Linked DNA regions of Homo sapiens: all the other regions are linked to region 3. The links are contacts of gene promoters, found by promoter capture Hi-C in blood cells and fetal thymus (Javierre and others, 2016). All regions are on one chromosome and are shown on one strand. The core of a region is centred on a gene start or on the middle of the fragment in contact, and the rest is flanking DNA. Distances in the headings are between cores, read along the strand shown. Region 1 overlaps MED12L (mediator complex subunit 12L). Region 2 holds the start of MED12L (mediator complex subunit 12L). Region 3 holds the start of TSC22D2 (TSC22 domain family member 2). Region 4 overlaps RNF13 (ring finger protein 13).

Evidence for each region. Contacts are between HindIII fragments. The CHiCAGO score rates a contact against its expected background, and 5 or more counts as called.
Region 1: a fragment that was not itself captured here is called in contact with the fragment with the promoter of TSC22D2 in region 3 in 2 of 17 cell types (activated CD4 T cells and naive CD4 T cells); the score reaches 6.0 in activated CD4 T cells.
Region 2: a contact is called between the fragment with the promoter of MED12L here and the fragment with the promoter of TSC22D2 in region 3, in 1 of 17 cell types (fetal thymus). The highest score is 12.7, in fetal thymus.
Region 4: a fragment that was not itself captured here is called in contact with the fragment with the promoter of TSC22D2 in region 3 in 1 of 17 cell types (megakaryocytes); the score reaches 5.6 in megakaryocytes.

Annotation. Positions count from the first base shown.
Region 1 is chr3:151,196,816-151,202,780 of GRCh38, reverse strand. The region is part of intron 16 of MED12L (mediator complex subunit 12L); the gene reads right to left. GPR171 (G protein-coupled receptor 171) reads left to right here. Exons shown (of 3, transcript NM_013308.4): 2 at 1,784-1,872; 3 at 3,342-4,949. The coding sequence starts at 3,395. The coding sequence ends at 4,354. Among named protein-coding and RNA genes, the nearest start is that of GPR171, 3.4 kb to the left of the region's middle. The HindIII fragment of the contact is 657 bases long and covers 1,472-2,128 here.
Region 2 is chr3:151,081,658-151,087,319 of GRCh38, reverse strand. It overlaps MED12L (mediator complex subunit 12L), which reads right to left and starts at 1,656. Exons shown (of 45, transcript NM_001393769.1): 1 at 1,384-1,656; 2 at 295-522. The coding sequence starts at 393. RefSeq lists silencers at 904-1,198, 1,635-2,004. The HindIII fragment of the contact is 3,991 bases long and covers 1-3,839 here.
Region 3 is chr3:150,406,699-150,412,881 of GRCh38, reverse strand. It overlaps TSC22D2 (TSC22 domain family member 2), which reads right to left and starts at 4,584. Exons shown (of 3, transcript NM_001303264.2): 1 at 1,574-4,584. The coding sequence starts at 3,531. RefSeq lists enhancers at 1,888-2,767, 3,474-3,523 and silencers at 2,514-2,793, 3,054-3,223, 3,894-4,493. The HindIII fragment of the contact is 3,533 bases long and covers 1,317-4,849 here.
Region 4 is chr3:149,880,615-149,886,343 of GRCh38, reverse strand. The region is part of intron 4 of RNF13 (ring finger protein 13); the gene reads right to left. Among named protein-coding and RNA genes, the nearest start is that of RNF13, 70 kb to the right of the region's middle. The HindIII fragment of the contact is 978 bases long and covers 3,461-4,438 here.

The sequences.
Region 1 (5,965 bases), core at 551-3,050, 790 kb before region 3:
TTAAGATGACTTTCCTCTACAAACATTACAATAGGTGATTTCAAGAAGATTCCACTGTGATTCCCATAGAAAATCTAATAAGCTTTTATTTTGTTTTTGTTTTGTTTTGTTTTTGAGGAGTCTCGCTTTTTCACCCAGGCTGGAGTGCAGTGGTGCGATCTCAGCTCACTTCAACCTCCACATCCCGGGTTCAAACAATTCTCCTGCCTCAGCCTCCCGAGTAGCTGGGATTACAGGTGCCCGCCACCGCGTTGGCTAATTTTTGTATTTTTAGTAGAGACAGGATTTCACCATGTTGGCCAGGCTGGTCTCGAACTCTTGACCTCAAGTGATCCACCCGCCTCAGCCTCCCAAAGTGCTGGGATTACAGGCGTGAGCCACTGTGCCCAGCCAGTTTATTTATTTTCTAAGCAATGGGCACTCTATCCAAACTACAGAGACAGTTAAAATCTTGTATTGTTGTTGCTGCACTACTTCTGAGTATCTCACATTTTCACTGGTAAGTAACTGTCTGGTAAAATATTTATTAAGCACTTAGTTCTCAAACTTGTGACACAGAACACAGGATGTTATTATACAATATTTTAACCTCTAATTTACATAAGCAAAAATTTTAAATAAACAGATTTGTTTCTCACTGCAATTTAGACAAAAGTTCACAAACACAAATGTGAGAAATGTGAGATGCTCCATGATTCTTGAGAATTACTGAATGATTATTCATTTCAGATAAATTATTCATGTACGGTATATATCGTCAGTTCTAGCTACAGAGAAAATTAATCAAAATAAATTACTCTAATTCTTCTCTTTACCATATACGTCTCATTGATACAACAGACTTATTTTATAGTTGTGCAAGCAATGGAGCACTTAAAGAAACACATTATGTTACCATTATTATGTAATATTTGAAATAGAAGTGCGTAAGCCAAAATCCTAGGGCCTTAGAAAGTAACAATAAGCAAAGATGTGACACTATATCAATGCACACGAATACTAGTTTTTCACATAAAGAAGAAAAGTATGTTCAAAATTCCAAGGTACAAATGGTAACTATCCAAATTCATGGTCGCCAAGGACATCGGTAAAGCCTGGAGTAGCTTTCAGATGTGAGGAGCTTCCTTAAAGCTCTGGAATAAGCAGGATTCAGGAATAGTAAGGATAAATGCAGAGCGCTTAGAAGATGACCAATAAGAACAGATCTTAGTCCTGCCTGAACATGCTGTGAAAGCTTGAGGAACACACCAGTGCCAGCCCTCAATCTCCTCAACTGACTTGGGGATTAGACTACAGGCTATCGATAAAGTTTCCATCCATCCTTAAAATCCTATGACTCCAAAATTTCTATCACATGCAAAAGTATAAAGGCAGGAAGGAACTGTACACAGAATAATAGAGACCCCACCAATCCCAATCTTAATCTGGGATGTAAGTAGAGATGGTAGAGAGAAACTAGGTTATGGAAGCTTTGAGAGCAAAGTTGGTTTAAACTTATTGGATGGGCCTAGGTTTTGTTTTTAAATGTGCGTGTGAGAGAGAGAGAGAGAGAGAGAGTGTGTGCACGTGGTTGTATGCATAGAACAGCAAAATATACGAAAAGCCTAAACTTATATTCTTAGTATTTTGGTAAAAAGTTAAAAATAGTTTATTTCAGCTTTATTACATAAAAATTGTTTAGAACATAGTTCCTGCCCACACAGTAAGCCCTTAGTAAAGACTGGCAGATATAATAATAATCATTATCATTTCTATCATCATCTTACTATTGTTACTGAGGCAGTGTTTTGGAGTGGTTTTGAATGTGATTCTGAGATCAGACTGACTGAGCTGGAATCCTGGCTTTATATCTTACCAGCTACACAACCTTGGGTAAGTAACCCCATTATGCCTCAATTTCCTCATCTGTAAAGCAGGGACAATAACAACACCTAGCTTATGGAAATGATAAGAAGTTAAATAAGTACATGTAAAGTATTTGGCATAGTGCCAGATACAAACCAACTGCTTAATTATTTTCATCGAGTTTGGTAAAGAATGACATTATTCATGGACTCTAACGTGCTAACTCAGGTAGGGAAAGAGAAAGGGCATGTAGCCTTTAAGCAGCACTTGAATTTAGAAAGCTTTGTGTACATCTGCCTTATTCATCTGTTTGCATACATTGTTTCATTACAAATGCACACAAAGGATCATTAATTAATTGGGGAAATTAAAATTTAGAAAGATGTCAGAAGTTTTATTCTCTTATTAAAAGGCACTTACAGAGTAGCTGATCTGGCCTTCAATGTTGGTCACTATAACTTATATTTGCTTCTTTTAAAAAGGTTGTATTATAATATAAAATGTTTCCTTGCTAAAATACAAAAATAATCTTCAGGTCTTTAAAACAAAAGAACACTGTTTAATGTGCAAAAGGGGGACCCACACCAACAGGCAGCACCAGAAAGATTACTAATGTACCCTTAGCTCTAAGCATGTGAGTTTGAATAGACCAGGTCAAAGGGAGCCCTATCAGTTTAACTTGAGCTTACAAACCCGCTCAATGTTCCAGATTTGGGAGGGACATGACAAGACTTCATTGTCATTATCAGTGGTGATCACAGTAGTTCTAAGGGTATGTCTTATGCTTCTGGGCTTTTAACTGCTTCAAAACCCACAATGAAAGAAAAAAAAAGCGACTCAAGTGTTGAAGTCAGATGTTTTGATACTAATATAAATAAATCTTTCTCCAAGGATTTTGTAACCAATGAACATACATCCATGTTCTGGTAGTTGTGGGTTTTTTTGTTTGTTTTTTTGGTTTTTTTCTGTTTGTTTTTGAGACAGACTCTTGCGACCAGGCTGGAGATTTTCCATCAACTCCTTACTTCCCCTGTCAGCCTGGGTTCTCCCAGCCTTAGGAGCCACATGAATCTATGGAAAACAAAAAACTAAAACAAGAAAAAAACCAGAAGGCCTCATTGAAAGCTCTTCATGCTCAACCACAACCCTAGTTTCCTCTCTCTACTTCTCAGAATCTCGGTTCACTTATCTCCTCTGCAAACTAACTTCCAACCCAACTGGTAACAAGAACTACCAGAATGGAAAAACCTGAGGTTGAAAATATCCCTACCAAAAGCAAACCTGCATGGGATTTCCTGAAAGTCACAAAATCAGACAATGGAAAACCCAGGCATCTTCACAATCTAGTATGTTCTCACCAGGCCATATGGTCTGGTAAGTTCACCAATAAAATTCTAAGAACTGGAAAGACAACGGTATTGTGAAGACCAATGTCTTTTAAAGAAAATAGTTGCTAATTTTAATTACTAACCTCCCTTTCCTTGTTTCTTTTACAGAGTCTTAGAAATTTTTTCTTTTCAATAAGCAGTCATCCTTACTTTCCCTCAAGATGACAAACAGTTCGTTCTTCTGCCCAGTTTATAAAGATCTGGAGCCATTCACGTATTTTTTTTATTTAGTTTTCCTTGTTGGAATTATTGGAAGTTGTTTTGCAACCTGGGCTTTTATACAGAAGAATACGAATCACAGGTGTGTGAGCATCTACTTAATTAATTTGCTTACAGCCGATTTCCTGCTTACTCTGGCATTACCAGTGAAAATTGTTGTTGACTTGGGTGTGGCACCTTGGAAGCTGAAGATATTCCACTGCCAAGTAACAGCCTGCCTCATCTATATCAATATGTATTTATCAATTATCTTCTTAGCATTTGTCAGCATTGACCGCTGTCTTCAGCTGACACACAGCTGCAAGATCTACCGAATACAAGAACCCGGATTTGCCAAAATGATATCAACCGTTGTGTGGCTAATGGTCCTTCTTATAATGGTGCCAAATATGATGATTCCCATCAAAGACATCAAGGAAAAGTCAAATGTGGGTTGTATGGAGTTTAAAAAGGAATTTGGAAGAAATTGGCATTTGCTGACAAATTTCATATGTGTAGCAATATTTTTAAATTTCTCAGCCATCATTTTAATATCCAATTGCCTTGTAATTCGACAGCTCTACAGAAACAAAGATAATGAAAATTACCCAAATGTGAAAAAGGCTCTCATCAACATACTTTTAGTGACCACGGGCTACATCATATGCTTTGTTCCTTACCACATTGTCCGAATCCCGTATACCCTCAGCCAGACAGAAGTCATAACTGATTGCTCAACCAGGATTTCACTCTTCAAAGCCAAAGAGGCTACACTGCTCCTGGCTGTGTCGAACCTGTGCTTTGATCCTATCCTGTACTATCACCTCTCAAAAGCATTCCGCTCAAAGGTCACTGAGACTTTTGCCTCACCTAAAGAGACCAAGGCTCAGAAAGAAAAATTAAGATGTGAAAATAATGCATAAAAGACAGGATTTTTTGTGCTACCAATTCTGGCCTTACTGGACCATAAAGTTAATTATAGCTTTGAAAGATAAAAAAAAAAAAAACAAAAAAAAACTCAGTATGAAAAAATACAGTTAGCTAGCAAATATGGACAGGTTTACTTAGAAATCCTGTTTCTAAATGCAAGTCAAGCTTTATTGTTAGGCTTGCTGCTACTCATTAACCCAAATATTTGTACAAAAAACTAAAGAGTCTCATTGAACGAATGTAAAATCCTGCAATATCCTTGAAATCCAAAAGAGGTCCATGACATAGACCCAAAGGTATTCATGAGTTATTCATTTAAATGCCTGGAACTGACTTCTTGATAAAAATATAAAAAATAATTTCCATGTAAGTTACCAGAAAGCCCACCAGCAACATAATTTTAAAGCCTTTCAGATTACTTTTAAAAAATGCAGCTTACATATAACAACTTGTGCCTATTTTATTTCTAATCTATCACTTCAAAAGATGGTAATCTTTCAACTCATTATTCCTCCAATTTTTAATGTCGAATTTTTTTCTAACACAATAACCAAAAGCTTTTATTTATAAAAAGGCTTGAAAAATATAGACAATCTTTAATGTATTATTTGTAATTATATTCTACCTGTAGGTTATAATAAAGGCTTCCTGATGTTAGTAATAATACATTTAGTGACTTCTCATTTCTATTTTGAAGTAACATGAAACACAGAGGCCCTGTAACATTTCAGAGGGAGTTGTTAAGTTATACTAACTACTGAAACTAGTGTTTTGGAACTAGAAAATCACATCGATAGCACATCAATGGTAAAACAGCACCAGTCAGATGGTCTTTATAAAACAGATACACTGACTTCGCATAGCAAGGCCGTGTTAGGAATGTAGCACAGGCCGAGCTACTCAGTGCCACCCAGGTCCAGAAAGATGAGCCTGACTCCACGTAGGGCCCCAGTTTAAAGTATAGGTGACTCCAGCCGGGCGTGGTGGCTCACACACTTTGGGAGGCTGAGGTGGGCAGATCTCAGGTCAAGGGTTAGAGATTAGCCTGGCCCACATGATGAAACCCCCTCTGTACTAAAAATACAAAATTTAGCCTGCTGTGATAGTGCACGCCTGTAATCTCAGCGACTTAGGAGGCTGAGGCAGGAGAATCATTTGAACCTGGGAGGCAGAGGTTGCAGTGAGCTGAGACTGCGCCACTGCACTCCGGCCTGGGCAAAAAGAGCGAGACTCTGTCTCAAATAAATAAGTAAATAAATAAATAACAATAAAGTATAAGCTGACTCCAGCTCTCAGAGTCACAACTCTGATCAAATTCTCTCCACTGCTGGTGATGCAGAAAGAATACACAGCATTAAATAAAAGACTTATTAGGAAAAAGAATATTGGAAAAATTTAGATAAGCATACATGATGACTTTGTGTTTTTTATTTCATTAGTAAAATAAGCCCATATAAAAACCGCTGGTAAATCCATTTGCATTAGCTGCAATGATTAAGAAATGGTGTTCCTGAAAGCTAGGAAAACAAGTTTGATTCCAAACTCATTTTTGCATTTCACAAATTATTTTCTAAAGCTTGAAAATCCTATCTACAATTCCATAA
Region 2 (5,662 bases), core at 407-2,906, 680 kb before region 3:
AGGTTTCGGCAGGGAAGAAGCCCGAGAAGCGCCCGGCGGCGCCGTGCAAGGCCCGGCAACGGGAAAGCGACCGGCACATGGAAAGCGAGCGCCCCAGTGGAGCGCGGGGACTGACAGCCGCTCGGTCTCCGCCGCCGGGGGGTCGCCCAGCACCCCCAGCCTGGCCCCCGCCTCTAATCCCCCTCCCCGACCTCTTCCACCGCAGCGCCGGCGATGCCCGCTGGGCCAACTTGGCCCCGGGTCAGTGCTGCAGAGCGCGGCCCCGGTTGCCGGGGAGGCCGCCGGCGCCCTTACCTCCTTCTGCTTGGGGTCCTGTGGGTAGACGTCGGGCGGCCCGAGCCGGGGGCGCTTCAGCGGTCTCTGCTCATAGCTGAGAAGCCCGAAGGCGGCCATGATCTCTCATGTTAACCGGCGAAATGAATGAGAGTTGGAGCTGGAGCAGCCGCCTCTGAGCACCAGGGAGCAGCACTTTGCAGACAGACTCCCTCTCTCCCCCTCCTCGCTCGCTCGCTCGCTGTGGCGCTGCAGGCAGGAGGAATAAAGCAGGTTGGATGCTGCCGCTGCCCGGCAGCAGACACGCACTGATGGGGACAGCCTTCGGCGGGTACTCGGCTGCGCTCGAGCCCCGGGACGCACCGCTCCGGTGGCGGCGGCGGAGGGACTAGAGGTCGGCCAGGGTCCTCCGCGGCGCCTGCCTCCTCTGCTCCCCCCTACCTTGTCTCCAGGGGGAGGAGCAGCTGATGGGAACGTGTGACTTTTTTCACCAATGGACCCAAACCCACCCCAGCTGGGCGCAGGATGGGGGTGGGGGTGGGGCACTGGAAAAAAAAAAAAAAAAACTTTTCTTGGCGCCTAGGCTGGTGGCTGAAGTGCTCGCCCAAGGCGAGGGTGGCCCTCCCCTCCCGGGAAGAAGCTGTGGAGCGGACCGCCCCCGCCTCTCTTCCCCGGCAGGGACCCTTCCCCCGCCGCCACGCGCCCCGCAGACCCCGCCACCTGGACACGGACCGGGCCAGTGCAGGCAGAGGCAGGTCTGGAGGGGGCGCGAGACGCAGGGATGCGGCCGGTGGGAAGCGGCCGGTGCCTCCTAGACGCCCGCCAGGTTCCAGTGGCGCATCCGCAGCTACGGTCCCCTCGGCGGCTCCGGGCAGGCGCCGAGGCGCGCTGCTGGCGGTCGCGGCGGCTGGAGGGGGCCGTGCTCACGGTGGCGTGGGGCCGACTTAACCCTTTACAGTCCCTCCAGGGGCTGGGGAAGGGGGTGAGGAGCGATGGCTGTGAGCGCCGACGGGGGCAGCCAGCCCGCAGGCGTCTCGGGCTCCTCCAGCCCGCCGCCTCCCCACGGCCCCAGCTCCTCTTCCCTTCCGCCCCCAACCCCCAACACTTTACCTGTTGGTCCGCGGCTAGCGGGCTGGGGCTGGCGGCGGCGGGGTCACTCCGGCCGCCGCAGCCTCCATCATTCGGGTTGGGATGGGGGACTTGGATTTGATTTTATTTGTGCGGTATCTGCCTCGCCCGGACGAGCTCCGGGAACGCCGCGAAGTTTGCCACTGTCTGGGGGCGGCGAGCGACGCCGGCTCGCCGCCGGCGTTCTCGCCCCCACGGCCCGGGAGCGCGAGCTTCCGAGTTGGCGGACGGCGGCGCGGCGTCCGCACTGAGCATGCCCAGCTCGGCGGCCGGACCGCGGAGGAGTTGGCTGAGAGCGCGGTGAGCGCGCTCCAATCCGCCTCTCCGGGTTTTCGCAGCCGCAGAGCGCGCAGCCCGCGGGCCCCGGCGCCGAGGCTGGCCCTGGGGTGAACCTGGGCGAGGGAGGGAGCGCCCTCTGGAGCCCTGCTCCAAGCCCCCCGCTGCACCCTCCGCCTCGACCTCCCCAGAGGTCGCGGTCCCCGTGGCCTGGGCCGAAAACCTCACCTGCGCCGGGAGCGTGGAAGGGGCGGGGGGGGTGATCCTCCAGGGCAGACCTTGGTCATCCAACCCGCCCTCGCTCCTCGCTTCGGGGCGCGGGCACCAAGATGCTGGGCCACCTGGCGCGAGCTCTGCGAGACCGGAGCCGCGGAGGCGGGCTCGGCCTGTCCTGAGGGACCCCGCGGGAGGCGTGCCCGGGAGAATGCGCCCGCACTTGGCCAAGAATGATGGCTGCCATTTATGGAGCCTTCGCTACGTGCCAGGATCTTGATAGTCAGAATCTCTGGTCCTTACAACCTTCCACGGTCTTACTGTACCCTTTTTATGGATGGAGAAATTGAGCCAGCTCAGAGAGGACCACTCACTTGCCGAAAGCCACGAAACGAGTCGGAATTTGAACCCACGACTGATTCTAAGTTTCTGACCTGTTTTCCCTGACTTGGACTTGGAGGGACTGGGTTCCTAACCTGTCCTTGCCTGATGGACTCACGTTCTCCACGGCTTGAGGCATTCTCGGCCTTCCCTCTCTGTAAGGTGGTAAAGGCAGATTCTAACCGGAAGCCTTTGATACATAGTAGGTGCTCTGGAAATGCTGGTTGAATCTGAACATCAACTTTGATGTTCGTTGACATTTAAGCAAAGGGGGAAGAAGGAGATAAATAAAGTGAAGGTAATGTGGTAGAGGCTAGTTCCTCACTCCTGATCCTGACCTGTGAGCACCTCCAAACCCAGTTTGAGGCTGAGTCAGGTGTTTAGCTTTTGGCTTCCTTAATCTGAACAATTACTTCTAGAGAGCATTTACCTAACTTCACTGGAGGGCATTTCCTGACCACCTTCCCCATCTTGCCCCAGGGTCTTCTCTTCCACTAATATCCTGGGATTAATTTCATGGCTGGACTTGCCCTTGTGATACAGGCATCTATCAAATGTAGCTCCCTTGTTTGAAAGAAAGGACAGTTTTTTGTTGTTGTTGTTTTCTTTGTTTGGTTGGTTGGTTGTTTTTTGAGACAGAGCCTCGCTCTGTCGCCCAGGCTGGAGTGCAGTGGCGAGATCTCGGCTCACTGCAAGCTCCGCCTCCTGGGTTCACGCCATTCTCCTGCCTCAGCCTCCCGCGTAGCTGGGGCTACAGGCGCCCGCCACCACGCCCGGCTAATTTTTTTTGTATTTCTTTTTTTTAGTAGAGACGGGGTTTCACAGTGTTAGCTAGGATGGTCTCGATCTCCTGACCTCGCAATCCGCCCACCTCGGCCTCCCAAAGTGCTGGGATTACAGGCGTGAGCCACCGCGCCCGGCCGAAAGGGTTTTTTTTATTATCTAACTTTATTAGGGAAATTATTAAACATACAAAAAGCTGAAGAAATCATATAAGGAGCCCTCAAATATTCATCTCTCAGCTATAAAAATTAAAGTTACTATTTTTGTTTCATCTTTCTCCCCCATTCCCAACTCACTGACATACACTAGTAAGGACAGTTTTACTCATTGTTGCAACTCAGAAACACTGTATGGGACCTGACACATGGTGAGCATTCAAAAATGTTGGCTTATGGAATGGATGATAGGTAGGCGATGTGTGGATGGACTGATGATTGCATCATTAGTGGTACTTTGGGAATAACAGCCTGCGCTGCTACTGAATCAAACACCCCTAGTTTGGGGGAGAAATGTAATCTCAGTTCTTCCCTTGGGATGCCTAAGCAAGCGCCTCCAACTGAAACACTTTGAAGCACTTAAAATCTTATCTGCCCATAAGAATTTTATCTTAAAATCAAAATGTGTCAGTAGTGTGCCCCTGGTGTTTGGGAAGAAGGGAAAATAATAGCCCTCTCCCTGTTGTTGTCCCTTCTTAACTCCCTCTCCTGAAACAGTCTGGCATGAATTCCTTGACCCTCTCAACACAAAATAAATAAATATTGAAAACTTTAATATGCTTAGAAGCTTCCCCTAGGAATCATTATTTTACTGCATGGATTTCCCATGGGCATTTGGCTCCTTACCCTGGGAAATCTTTGTAATCTACCCCCTACCTAGCAATTCAGCTTTTTCTCCTTAACCTCTTGCCCTAGTTAGCTTCCTTTCCTAATATGGAATTCCCAGGCTCTTCATCTTCAAATACTCACCTCTACAGTCCTCAGAGTACGGATTCCTGTACAAAGCCCCTTCAAATTCCCCTGGCAAAAGGTGATCTTTTGGCTTTTTAGTGCCCTTAGCACTTAATTTTTATTATCTTAACACTTATTTATTGGCATGCATTTGAATGTGTCACACAGAATAGTCTTGTTGCCTCATTCTCACCTTTTCCTCCTGGTCCCCTTCTTCCATTCCAGGTCTTTAAGCAGACTAAGATCAGCTCATCATGATGGGCTTAACCTGTAACCCACTGTGTTCTATACAGTGCTTGAATTTCCCACGTGGTGCTGGTTAATATAGCAGGCAAACATTCTCGTTGAATAATGTGGGTTCTAGCTGATACTGTTCCTAAGGGGTATTTTATCTTTACCTAGCTAATGATTCCCTGGGACCAGGAAAAATTTGCATGGAACAGAAATTAGAGAAGACCAGAGGCTCCCCAAATAGGTCCCAGCCTTGAACCTCAGCCTAGCAAGAAGGGATGAGTTCAGGTTCCTAAGGAAGTTTTGTATAGCTATCCAGGGAAATGGGGTTGAAATGTGGCTGGAGAAAGGTGAATGAATTACAAACCATTTTAAGCATATGGTGCTATATCCTCCAAGTATAAAGCTGAGTCTTCACTGCTGCTTTTGAGGGTTACCAGGTATTTAAAAGTTGACCCTTTTTCTTGGGTCACATTCAAGGGTTTCTCAAAGATTCCCTAACTGCTTATGTTCCCTCTGAAAGCCCTGATTTTCAGCATTCTGCAAGGAGTCCCTCACAGTTGGTATCCATTTGTGCTTTTGGGCAAATCCCTTCAATATAGCTCATGGCTGGCTTTCTCTCCCTACATTTGGTCTGCCAGAAATACACAAATGTCCTTTGCCTGTACATACGCTAGTGCAGGCATTTTCTAACCAGCCTTCTGTCCTTGCCCACCATGAACACACTCTGCAAGCCACAATTCTCCACCTTGAAAGTTCAATAGTCTAAATCGGAGACCAGTTCCTCAGGTTCATCCAAACTGCAGAGGATGAATGTCAAATGCTCAGGTCAGTGACCCTCTCAAAAAGTTTGAAGTGAGGAATAAAATTTCTTTGGTGAAAGGCAGAGACACAATCATTTGCAGAGAAGTTGTTTTTTGTTTTGTTTTGTTTGTTTGTTTTGTTTTGTTTGAGACAGAGTTTTGCTCTGTCACCCAGGCTGGAGTGCAGTGGCGCCATCTCTGCTCACTGCAATCTCCACCTCCCGGATTCAGGCGATTCTCCTGCCTCAGCCTCCTGAGTAGCTGGGATCACAGGTGCATGCCCCCACACCTGGCTAATTTTTGTATTTTTAGTAGAGATGGAGTTTTGCCATGTTGGCCAGGCTAGTCTCAAACTCCTGGCCTCAAGCGATCCACCCATCTTGGCCTCCCAAAGTGCTGGGATTACAGGCATGAGCCACCGCACCTGGCAGCAGAGCAGATTTTTTAAATGAGAGTGAAGAATGGCTAGGAGCAGAGGCAGGATGTTTACCCATCAGAAACTGTGGTCCTGGCTGGGCATGGTGGCTCACACATGTAATCCCAGCACTTTGGGAGGGCCCAGGTGGGTGGATCACTTGAGGCCAGGAGTTCAAGACCAGCCTGGCCAACATAGCAAACAAAAAATTA
Region 3 (6,183 bases), core at 3,335-5,834:
TGTGGCAGCTAGAAAAGTGAAGATGCCTGTTGATTATTACCAAAGGTGAAAAAATAAACTCAATCTGTGTTACAGGTGTGTCCCTGTGTGTGACAATGGGAGCAACTATAAAAGTAGAGGGATTTTTCTGAGTGGCTTGTGGAGTCAGTTTACTTAGTAGTCCCACACACACAAAATTTCTCAATGACTAGCTAGCTGAGCTCACTTATGGACACGTGGTATTCTCTAAGCGTTCTCAAGTGAAGAAAGACTCCCCATAAGCAAGTCACCTACAAAAAAAGATGAACTTTAAATTACAAAAAGCAGAGAAGATGAATGAATTTCAGTCAGTGAGTATTTTTCAAACCAACAGAAGTATATAACAAAAATACAAGGCTAATTAGAAATGGGAGGTTAAGAAATGTGAAGGAACTCAGAAGAAACCATAGGAAGAGAAAGCTTTAACATACATGTCATTGTATTCTTCCACATACTAATTATTCTGGAAATCCATAATATTAGTTTGTATCTTTTAAAAACACCTAAAATTAGCCTCTCGCTAAACAAAAACCCCAGCAAAGAAATGTCTAACTGTGAAATTCCTGAAACTTTTTCTATAATTTTTAAATATAATTTTAAAACATTGCAACAAGTCAGCTTTTAAAATTTTGCAATATGTATGTCAAATTTACATGTGACATCTCCTCAAAACCACAAAAATCCTCACTAAACCATAACCAAACATCAGCTGTTGTGGCACTGGTGTAGCAATACACTAATTCTTATTTAGGCCATTAAAAAAAGCATCCCTAAATACAGGGAGCCAATTATTAACATTTACACTTTTATTATAAAATTACTCTTAATTTCAAGAACTATAGCTTTCACTACAGTTAAAGGATCGATCTCAACCTCCCTTTCCTATAATAAATAGACTGATGGAAAGTAAGAATATCTTTCCAGTACATTTTTTGCTTAACAACAAAAAAATAGTATCTTAGAGAAGTCCCTGGGAAGACTCGTGACCTTGTACCTCCTTTAATCAAAAGGCTGAACTAAGTATGATCTTCAAAGCCGGATTTGACATTTCACCATTATGTCTCCAGCCTTTCCAGATACACTGGAGAAGATTCCTTACATAGATTTTTTTTTTCACTAGAGGACCTTCTGGTTTTCCAGAAAGGAAAACTTGTAGTATTATTATGTCTCAGCCTCAAAACTCACACTGACAAATCTCTCTGCCTTACGTGTTCAAGTGTGATTGATATGTAAGAAAAGGACAATTCTATGGGAGCATAACACACTAGCTACCACCATTAAATGGTAAGCATTAAGCTTAAATTCACCTTTTTTTGAGTAAACAATGTTGCATCCCTACCCATTTTAGTGCTTTTAAACAACGGTGACAAGACCAATTCGCTCATTACACCCTTTGACATCAGCATCAGCAATCTAAATCAATTTTACCAAAAACTAAATTTTGTATTTAAAAATGCTAAGGGCCTCCGTTGACAACAATCTCCCAAAGTTGCATCCTAAGCTACAATGTTGGCCAAGCATTTCTATCAAATATTTAAAATAGAGATTTCCATACCTGTCTTCATCACCATCAACAGGAATAGCTATGCTGAATACAGAGGTGGCCAGACTGTTCATAGGTGTTAACTGAAGGGGGTTTGCCAGGGAATCTGCAACAGGCGGCTTCACAACAGGCTTATTTTCAGCAATGAGAGAAAGTGGTGGTTGAGGTAGGGGTTCTGATTTTCTTCTAGTATCGTCGACTTGCCCGACTAAAGGCTGGGTCTGAGTTTGAAACTGGCTTAGGTCAGACTGTGGTAGACTTGTTGGTGCGCTGTGTGTGCCTGGCGCTAAGGGCAGCCCAACATGCTGGATTATGCTGCTGCTCCTGCTGACTGGCGTATGGCTGCTCAGCTGTTGCGACTGGGCCAGAGGCGCGGGTACATTTGGCATAGTAACAGAAGTGGTAGACACACTAGGCACGCTTGGAGCGGGCACGGCTGCAGGCACGTTTGGAACTCCGGGCACCACGGCGTGAGGGCCACCAGGTACGGCTGACAGCGGACCACTGCCACCCATCTGCGGCGGAGGCACGGACTGGGGCTGCCCAGCCCCGGCAGGACCGAGGCACGGCTGCACCACGCCTCCCACAGTAGCCGGGGGCACTCCAGTCGGCTGACAAGGCGCGACCTGCCCGCCTTGCGCTGGTCCCGTCCGGGGGGCCATGGCTTCGCTGGGCTGGGAAGACGCGCCCATGAGCTGCGCGCCCACCGAGGAAGCATTCTGGCCGGTGCCCACGGGAAGGGTGGCCGCCGTGGCGGGGCTCGCTGCGGCGCCGGTGGACGAGGGCTGCGCGGGGCTTGGCGGCTGCAGGCCGGCCACGTGCTGCTGCAGGTACTCACTCTGGCCGGAGGGCTGGACGGGCAGCAAATGTCCGGGCGGTATCTGAGGCTGAGGATACGCGAACTGCTGGGGCTGCTGCGCCGCGGGGGCGCCCACTGCAGGGCCCGGCTGCGGAGGCAGGGACATAGCCGGCTGCGCCAGGGTTACATTCGTCGGCGGCAGAGTCTGTCCCCCGGGCCCCGCTCCCTGGGGCTGGCTGGGCTGCGCGGCTGCCATCATTGGCTGCGGCCCGGTCGCGGCTCCCGGGAACGGCGGCAGCGGAGCCGAGCTTTGAGCCACAGCCCCACCTACGGGTGGCGGCGGCGGCTGTGGCTGCCCAACGCTAAAACTCTGCGGCTGGGCCGGAGTGGGCTGGCTCATTTTCTCCGACGGGGGTAGCTGTGACACAGCAGTCAAGGAGCTGTCAGTTCCCGACTCGGGCCCGTGCGCCCCCTGCATGGAGGCCACTACTACCACCACCGACCCTCCGGTGGCGCCCAGGCCGCTGTCCCGCTCCGCAGTCTGGTCAAAAGTACTGCTGTGTCTAATGCAATCCCCGGATCTAGTCAGGACGCTGCTGTCTGAATCCCTCTCATAGTATTCCATACACGTCCATCGGCCGCGTCTATAGGGCTCTCCGCTCCCGTGGTCCAGCTTGATCACGCGAAAACGGGAACTACATGTGGTGGGAGGCTGAGATGGGGCTGCAGTCACTGGCCCGGCGGATGAGCCCGCGAGCTGGGGGCCGCCGGGTGCTCCGGGGGCGGGGGCCGAAGTGGCAGCCGCCGCCAGGGTACTGGCGAGCGCCCCAGACACGCTCCGGGCCGAAACGACTCCTCCTCCGTTGGCGGGAGCAGCAGCCGCCGCTGCCAGCTGCCCATCTAGGAGGAGGTTTGGGGAGACGGTCCCGGGAGTCTCCGCATCCCCAACATTGTTAAGCGTCTCTTCGGAAGAGCTGCGCTCGCAGACCTCCTCAGGGCCATAATCCGTGGCCCGAGAGACGTCGAAAATCTCGGAGGAGACGTCCTCTGTGCGTGACTCGTCCGGGTCGTCCAAGCTCTCGGTGTCCTCGGTGATGCTAGTGGCCACCTGGGCCGTGGTGACACTGGTGATCTGGAAGCAGCTCTTCTTCTTGGCCGGCATCTTGGACATGGTGAAGAAGGCTGGAGGGCAGAGAGGCACGCCGGCTCCTCTGGGTCCTGTCGGAAACCGGGGAGGGCAGAGCACGGGCCCCCAAAGACAAAGTCCGAGTCTGCGCTGGGGTCTGAGGCCCGCCGCTGTTAAGAGTCACGGGCTGATCCAGGCGCTGGCCGCCCGGTGAGACATCCTCCTCCTCGTTTCCTTCTCTGTGTCGGTCTCTTCGGCTCTGCCCCCGTCTCAGTCCCGCGGCGGCTCCTCCTTCCTTTTTAGCTCTCGCAGCCGCGGCGCCTCAATTCAATTCCCTCAGAGGCGGCGAGAGCGCGAACCCAGGGGCGGGCCGGCTGCTTCCTCTCTCGTCTCCGGGCAGCCGTGGTCAGTCCAGCTCGGCGCTCGGCGCGGTCAGCAGGCCTTGGCTGGGGGTGGGAGTGGGAGGGCGAAGAGGAGGAGGAGGAGGCGGTGGCGGCGGCGTGAGGGGCGGTGCTGCCCCGCTCGGGCTCCTCAGGCCGGTGCCGGCGTCAGCGCTGGGCTCTCTGACTGAGGGAAGGAGCGGCGAGTCCGGAGTCGGAGATGCCTAATTCAGCCGGGAGCCGCGGGCCGGAGCTGGCTGAAGGTCCGCGGGCGGGCGGTGGGGCTGTGGCGCGGGCAGGCGGCCCTCCCTCCCCGGCTCTAGCCGGAGCTCAGCCCCAGGGACATGTCGACTGCCTCAGGCGGAAACCCGCTCTGGGGGAGGGGAAAGCCGGCTCGGTCCTCCCCTTACAGGGGGAACCACCCCTGCGGGCGGGCGGCGACGGCGGTCTCGGCCTCCCCTCGCGGCTTCTCTCAGAGAGGGGCGGCGGCGGCAGACCGCTGGCACGGGACCGGAGGCGCCCCGGCTGTGTGAGGTAGCGGTGGTGGCTTCTCCGGCTCCTCCTCGGTGCGCCCAATTCCTAAACCCCGAAGAAACTGAAATTCAAACTGCTGAAGCGGCGGCTGCAGCTCCCTCCGCTGGGCCAAGATGGGGCTGAAATGGCCGCGCCAGGGATGCTGGGAGGAGCAGCAGCCCCGCTGCCGCCGCCGCTGCCGACTAAAATGCCGCCGCTGCCGCAGCCACCGCCAGCGCCGCAGCCGCCGCCGTTCCGTGACGCACCGGCGTCGTGACGTCACCGCTCCGCCCCCTCCGGTTTCCTGCAGTTTCGCGTGGAACCTGGGGTGGGGGGCAATGGGCGGGGCTAAAGGTTAAAAAAGGGAGCGGTTTCTTTATTTAAAATTTTTAAAATTTAAATTTTGTGTTGTAGGTTCTTTAAGCATTGACGAGCTAAAGACCATTTTAAATTCTAAGCCTAGGGAAGCTTACAATGGAACTAATCAGATGTTTTTATGTCGGTTTGTTCCGAGACAGTGGAAGACTGGAGGTCATGTGCTTGTGTCTAATGTTTAGCAAAATCTTAGTGAAACGAGGGCGATAGGAATGGGGGCTGGGGAAGACTTAGATGGGATAAAAAGAGGTGCGGCTGGAAGAACTAAATCACTTTAAAACTTCTGAAAATAAATGTTGACCATTGTAGTCAGAGGAGTAAAATGTTCAGAGAAATGGGGATGATTAAACAAGAACGGCAAGCCAGATTGAGTCAGAAAATTATCTTCCTGCCAGAAATTCTGTCTCCCACAACGGCATCAGGGGGTGGTTACTTGCCCAGGGTGTAGTCAGTTTTTAAAAAGCTTAAGGGTTACCAACATATTCCTAAATTTCCTGAATTTGCTGTGATTCCAGGATTCATTTAAACTCTTGAGACTGTTTTACTTTCGGCACGAAATCAGCTCATGGGCTTTATAAATGTAGAACCTACTGCATTATAGTTCTTCTTTTTGTTTATTCTAAAACTGTTAGTAGCAGCCAGCGTATTATATGATTTGGATTGGGCCATGAACAACCGTAACGAGTGATAAAGCACCCTTTCCTGTTCCAATGCAAAGAACAACTATGAAAAGAAAGTACTGGCAAATTTATCATCTTGTAGTTAGTTCCTGGCCAAAGAAAATGGTAAGGCCATTCTTTTAAGCAGTTAAAAAAAAATGGGGATGGGCTCTTAAACTTTGGCATGCTAAGGCCATTCTTTTAAGCAGTTTAAAAAAATGGGGATGGGCTCCTAAACTTTGACATACTAAAGCAGTCGTCATTTAGGTAAAATCTAAGTCTTAATGGAAATCGTGATTTCATATCTACTGCAGCGTTAGCAATCACATAATGATAACTTAAATCAGTAAATCGTTGAACTCGGTTCTCTAATCTTTGAAGAATAGAAATACTTTTTATCCCAAAAGATGTTTTGAGAATTAAATTTGCAGAGAATTTTTTAGGTCTTTAGTTGTAATTTATAGAGCTAGGTCTTTTAACTTTAGTGGAAACCATGCCCTCCAAACCCAAGTGACTGGAGTCAGAATGTGAAATAAGACGACATAAAATCCCTATTTCTTAAGGGGCTGGGCGAAAGTAATGGAACAAAATGTAACGTTATGCTATTGTGGCAGAGATAGCTAATGGAATGTTTCATTTCTAAGTCTGTAATTTCAGTAATTGTTAGAGGCAGTTTTCCATCAATAAGTTAGATCAAATGGTTAAACCCAATATGAATTTATAAAAGCTTAATTTAATTTTGGATTGATTTACCAGATGTTTAAGGTGGT
Region 4 (5,729 bases), core at 2,700-5,199, 530 kb after region 3:
CAATATTGTTAAAATGCCCACACTACCCAAAGCAATCTACAGATTCAATGCAATGTCTATCAAAACCAATGACATTCTTCACAGAAATAGAGAAAAACAATTGTAAAATTTATATGAAACCACAAAAGACCAAGAAGAGACAAAGGTATCCTCAGCAAAAAGAACAAAACTGAAGGAATCACATTACCTGACTTCAAATTATACTACACAGCTATAGTAACCAAAACAGCATGATGCTGGCATAAAAAGATACACAGAACAATGGAACAGAATAGAAAACACAGAAACAAATCCACACACCTACAGTGAACTCATTTTTGACAATAATGTCAAGAACATACACTGGGGAAAAGACAGTCTCTTCAATGAATGGCGCTGAGAAAACTGGAGGTACATATCCAGAAGAATGAAACTAGACCCCTATTTCTTGCCATATAAAAATATCAAACCAAAATGGATGAAATACTTAAATTTAACATCTCAAATTATGAAATTACTACAAGAAAACATTGGGGAAAATCTCCAGGACATTTGTCTGGGCAAAAATTTCTTGAGTAATACCCCATAAGCACAGGCAACCAAAGCAAAAGGGACAAATGGACTCCTATCAAGATAAAAGCCTTCCACGCAGCAAAGGAAACAATCAACAAAGTAAAGAGACAACCTACAGATTAGGAGAAAATATCTGCAAACTACCCATCTGAAAAGGAATCAATAACCAGAATATATAAGGAGTTCAAACAATGCTATAGGAAAAAAGTCTGATAATCCAATTAATAAATGGGCAAAAGATTTGAATAGACATTTCTCAAAAGAAGACATACAAATGGGAAATAGGCAAATAAAAATGTGCTCAACATCACTGATCATCAGATAAATGCAAGTCAAAACTACAATGAGATATCATCTCACCCCAGTTGAAATGCTTTTATCCAAAAAAAACAGGCAACAAGAAATGCTGGAGAGTATGTGGAGAAAAGGGAACCCTGTACACTGTTGGTAGGAATGTAAATTAGCACAATCACTAGGGAGAACGGCTTGGAGATTCCTCAAAAAAACTAAAAATAGAGCTGCCATATGATCCAGCAACCTCAGTGCTGGGTATATTCCCCAAAGAAAGAAAATCACTATATGAAAGAGATACCCAAGCTCCCATGTTTGTTGCAGCACTGTTCACAATAGCCAAGACTTGGAAACAACCTAAGTGTCCATCCACAGGTGAATGAATAAAGAAAATGTGGTACTTAGACACAATGGAGTACTATTCAGCCATTAGAAAAAATGAGATCCTGTCATTTGCAACATGAATGAAACTGAAAGCCACTATGTTAAGTGAAATGAGCCAGGCACAGAAAGACAAACATCACATGTTTTCACTTATTTGTGGGATCTAAAAATCAAAACAATTGAACTCATGGAGATAAGAGAGTAGTGTAGTGGGGGGAGATGGGGATGGTTAATGGGTACAAAAAAAAAACCACACACACACACACAGAATAAATAAGACCTAGTACTTGATAGCACAACAGGGTTACTATAGTTAATAATTTAATTGTACATTCTAAAGGAACTAAAAAGTAAAACTGAATTGTATGTAACACAAAGGATAAATGCTCGAGGTCATAGATACTCCATTTTCTATGATGTGATTATTATACATTACATGTTTGTATCAAAAAATGTCATGTATCCTATAAATACATACACCTACTATGTACCCACAAAAATTTTAAATAAAAAACTAAAAAAAAATGTAGATGGGTTCCCTTTAGGTCTTTGGCTAAATATAAGAATGGCATATGCATGCATACAGTGAGACCTTATAAGCCTGGACAAACAAGCTCACTAGGGAAAAAAAAACAATTACTGGAAAAAAGATTAACAATTTCCAGAATTCAGACAGGATCAGGAAGAGTTCAAGCTCTGACCAGCCAGAGAGGGGAGACTTCCTTGAATACTAGATCATTCAGAGGACACCCTAGAAGGGTTATACCTTATTAGTACAGCTAAAATAGTAGTGCTACAGTAAAGGCAACTCTTCATCAACTTAACAAACTTTAAAAACAAGCCTGAAAATAACCAAGCTCATCTGCAAGTAACTTACTGCCAGCCACAACAAAATTAAAAGGTCTTTAAAGACCAAGACATATGACAATACAACACTATGTCCAACATCTAATCAAAAGTTACTAGACATGCACTATTCACAACAAAGATACGGAATTGACCCAAATGCCCATCAATCATAGACTAGATAAAGCAAATGTGGTACATATACACCATGGAATACTATGCAGCCATAAAAAGGAACGAGATCATGTCCTTCTCAGGGACATGAATGGAGCTGGATGCCGTTATCCTTGGCAAACTAACGCAGAAACAGAAAACCAAACACCACGTGTTCTCACTTATAAGTGGGAGCTAAACAATGAGAACACATGGACACAGGGTGGAGAACATACACTGGTACTTCTCAGGGAGGGTCGGGGGAGAGAGAGCATCAGAAGAATAGCTAATGGATGCTGGGCTTAATTCTTGGGTGATGGGTTGATCCGTGCAGCAAACCACCATGGCACACGTTTACCTATGTACCAAACCTGCACATCCTGTACATGTACCCCAGAACTTAAAAAATGAAAGTTGAAAAAAAAAAAGGTAGACACGCCAAGAAGCAAGAAAATGTGACCCATAACCATGAGAAAAACCATTCAACAGAAACAGACCCAGAAATTACATGGATACGGAATTATGAATAGCAGACAAGGATTTTAAAACAGCTATAAATTATAATTTATTATTATAAGAATACATTTACATGTAATATAAAGACATAAAATTATAAATTACGTTCAAGGATTTGAAGGAGAATATAAACATAAGGCTCAGAGAAATGGATGATACATACACACACACATACACACACATTTTAAAGATCCAAGTGAAACTCCTAGATAAAAGAGATACAATATGAAAAGTTCACTAGGTGGGCTTAAAAGATTATAGACATTGTAGAATAAAGGATCAGTAAATGTGAAGACAAAGGAATAGAAATTATTAAACTGAAACACAGAAATGCACAAAGTAGGAAAAAAAGAATCAAGAGCTGTTGTAGATTAAAGGAGACATGACAACTAAGCTGAATATGTTTAGTCTGGGATTCATGATTGGATCCTGAAATGGTTAAAAAGAAAACAACTATAAGAGATATTTTGGACACAATTAGGAAATTTAAACATGTAGTTTATATTATTAGATAATATTTATCAATATTAAATTTCTTAAGTGTGGTAACTACATGTAGGAGAATGCTGCTGTTGTACAGAGAGAGAATGTATAAGACATAAAATATGGGGCTTATTTTAAAACTGTTTAAGAAAAAACACTTGGTAGTTACTAACAATGGATTAACTTCAGAAGTATACCTGTATTTTCATCTTTGTTGTAACATGAACCACAAGCTTTTGTCTTGAGGGCATTATTTTTTAAATATCCAGCTGAGTACTGTGACAACCTGATACATTTTAATCAGGCCAGCTTCACATACTTAACTTTAAATAGATTAATTTTCAACTACCATGGCTCATTAAAAACATGATATAAATATGGACTAATTTCATCATGGTCTCAAATTGAAAATAAAAACAAAATCATCCTGCACTTAGTAAAGGTAAGTGCATAGCACAATACTAGTAAGCAAAATTTGTGAAAATTCATGTTTCAGAGTATTACTTTAAAAATTAACAAAAGATCTGTTTTCATGCTTCTTGGTATAAACATTAATTACTAGAAAACTAAGCCTGTTTTCACCTTGAAAAACAGAGATCTGACAAAATAACATTTAGAGCATTTTAAGTACCAGGCTTTAATGTTCCTTAAGAACAATCTTTTTTGTTTATGTATATCTCAAGCCTAGAAAAATATCTCTCATATAAATAGTTGTTTAAAGTAAACTGCAACTAAGGTAACTGATTATCCAGCCCTATCCAGCAATATATAAGTCAAAAAAATAAAATTTCCTCGTATCTGTTGGTTAGTTCCTTCCTACCCCCTCCCCCACCCACCCTCCACGAAAGCACACAGGAAATTTTACTTTAGTCATTTTGGATAAAAATTTTTGTGATATGTTGCATTTTCCCCACCTTTTCACCAAATGTGACTTGACCTTTTCCAGTTACTCGAGATCATCATGAACATGCTTCAACAGACTATAGTTTTTCTCCTTAATGTTAAGTGTCATATGTTACTTCCTCTCTCTGTGCTTACCACTGGTACTCTACTAATAGTTATTCTGGACTTCCTCCATCTGTATATCCTTCTCTGTGGCAGAGAAAAAAAAAGAACTAAACCCGATAAGAATTCTATTCTTTAAAAAAAATTAAGTGCATAAGAATTCTGAGAAAAACTGCCAGGAAAAGTACATGGTTTTAACGCTGAAGCTTAGCAACATTCATAATGGTGGTACAAAGGCATGTTTCCTTCTCTTCTCTGAGGCTATGTTCTGGGAAAGTTGACCTTTTGCTAAGTGGCATATTACCACTGTACATGTTAAGCTTAGAGGTAAGCTGAATTTATTTATTTCATTAGAAAACATTTTTGGTAGGGCTAGTAAAATCTTGTGTTATACAAAAAGCCATACTTATTTGTTTCAAGTACAGTATACCAAAAAACAGAAGCCAAAACGCTTGGAACTTAAATTATTAAAGATCTTATGTTGGCCGGGTGCAGTAGCTCACACCTGTAATCCCAACACTTTGGAAGGCCGAGGTGGGTGGATCACTTGAGGTCAGGGGTTCGAGGCCAGCCTGGACAACGTGGTGAAACCCCATCTCTACTAAAAATATGAAAATTAGCCAGGCCTGGTGGTGGGTGCCTGTAATATCAGCTACTCAGGAGGCTAGGGCAGGAGAATCATTTGAACCTGGAAGGTGGAGGTTGCAGTGAGCTGCGAGCAAGCCACTGTATTCCAGCCTGGGCAACAGAGCAAGACTCTATCTCAAAAAAAAACAAAGATCTTTTGTTATTTTTTCCAATGGCATCATTTTAAAGTCAATCTATGGCATATGGACAAGCAATTTTAAATACTGGGAGACACAATTTACTACTAAAATTACAAATAAAAAGCAATTTTTGAACTTAGAAGTGCTTAGGCAAAAAGCATACTTCTTAGTGTCCCTGCCAGTTTTCACTGCTACACAGAAAAGATTGGCCTAAATCTGCATTTTTCAAACTATAGGTCATGATCCATTACCAGGCAGTAAAGTCATTTAGTGAACCCAAGTGAATTTTATTTTTTAATAAAAAGAAATTTCATATACCAAGTTATTATCGTATAGGTAGTGTAGGTAAGTACTATTCCATGAAATTTTATTGTCAGACTGTGTGCTGTATACAAACTAGGGAACAAGTAAAAATAAACTTCTTACTGTGGGTGGGTTGCAGTCAAAAAAGTTTGAAACTCACTCATATAGATAGTTTTTAATATTCCATAGGTTGTTGGCAATCAGAAAAAAGATTGATGCCTTTCAACATGATTGTTCCATGTTGCAACAATCATGTTCTGCAACATCCCATCAAAAAATCAAAGTCATTAGCTTATAGGTCTTTGAATGTGGCTATTTCCAGTATTATGAAGCTTAATACTGTAGCTGGAACATGATTAGTACTAAAGATAATAAAATGAATAACATAAAATTAAAATTAATTTAAAAGTTAAATTACATTCGTCTTTT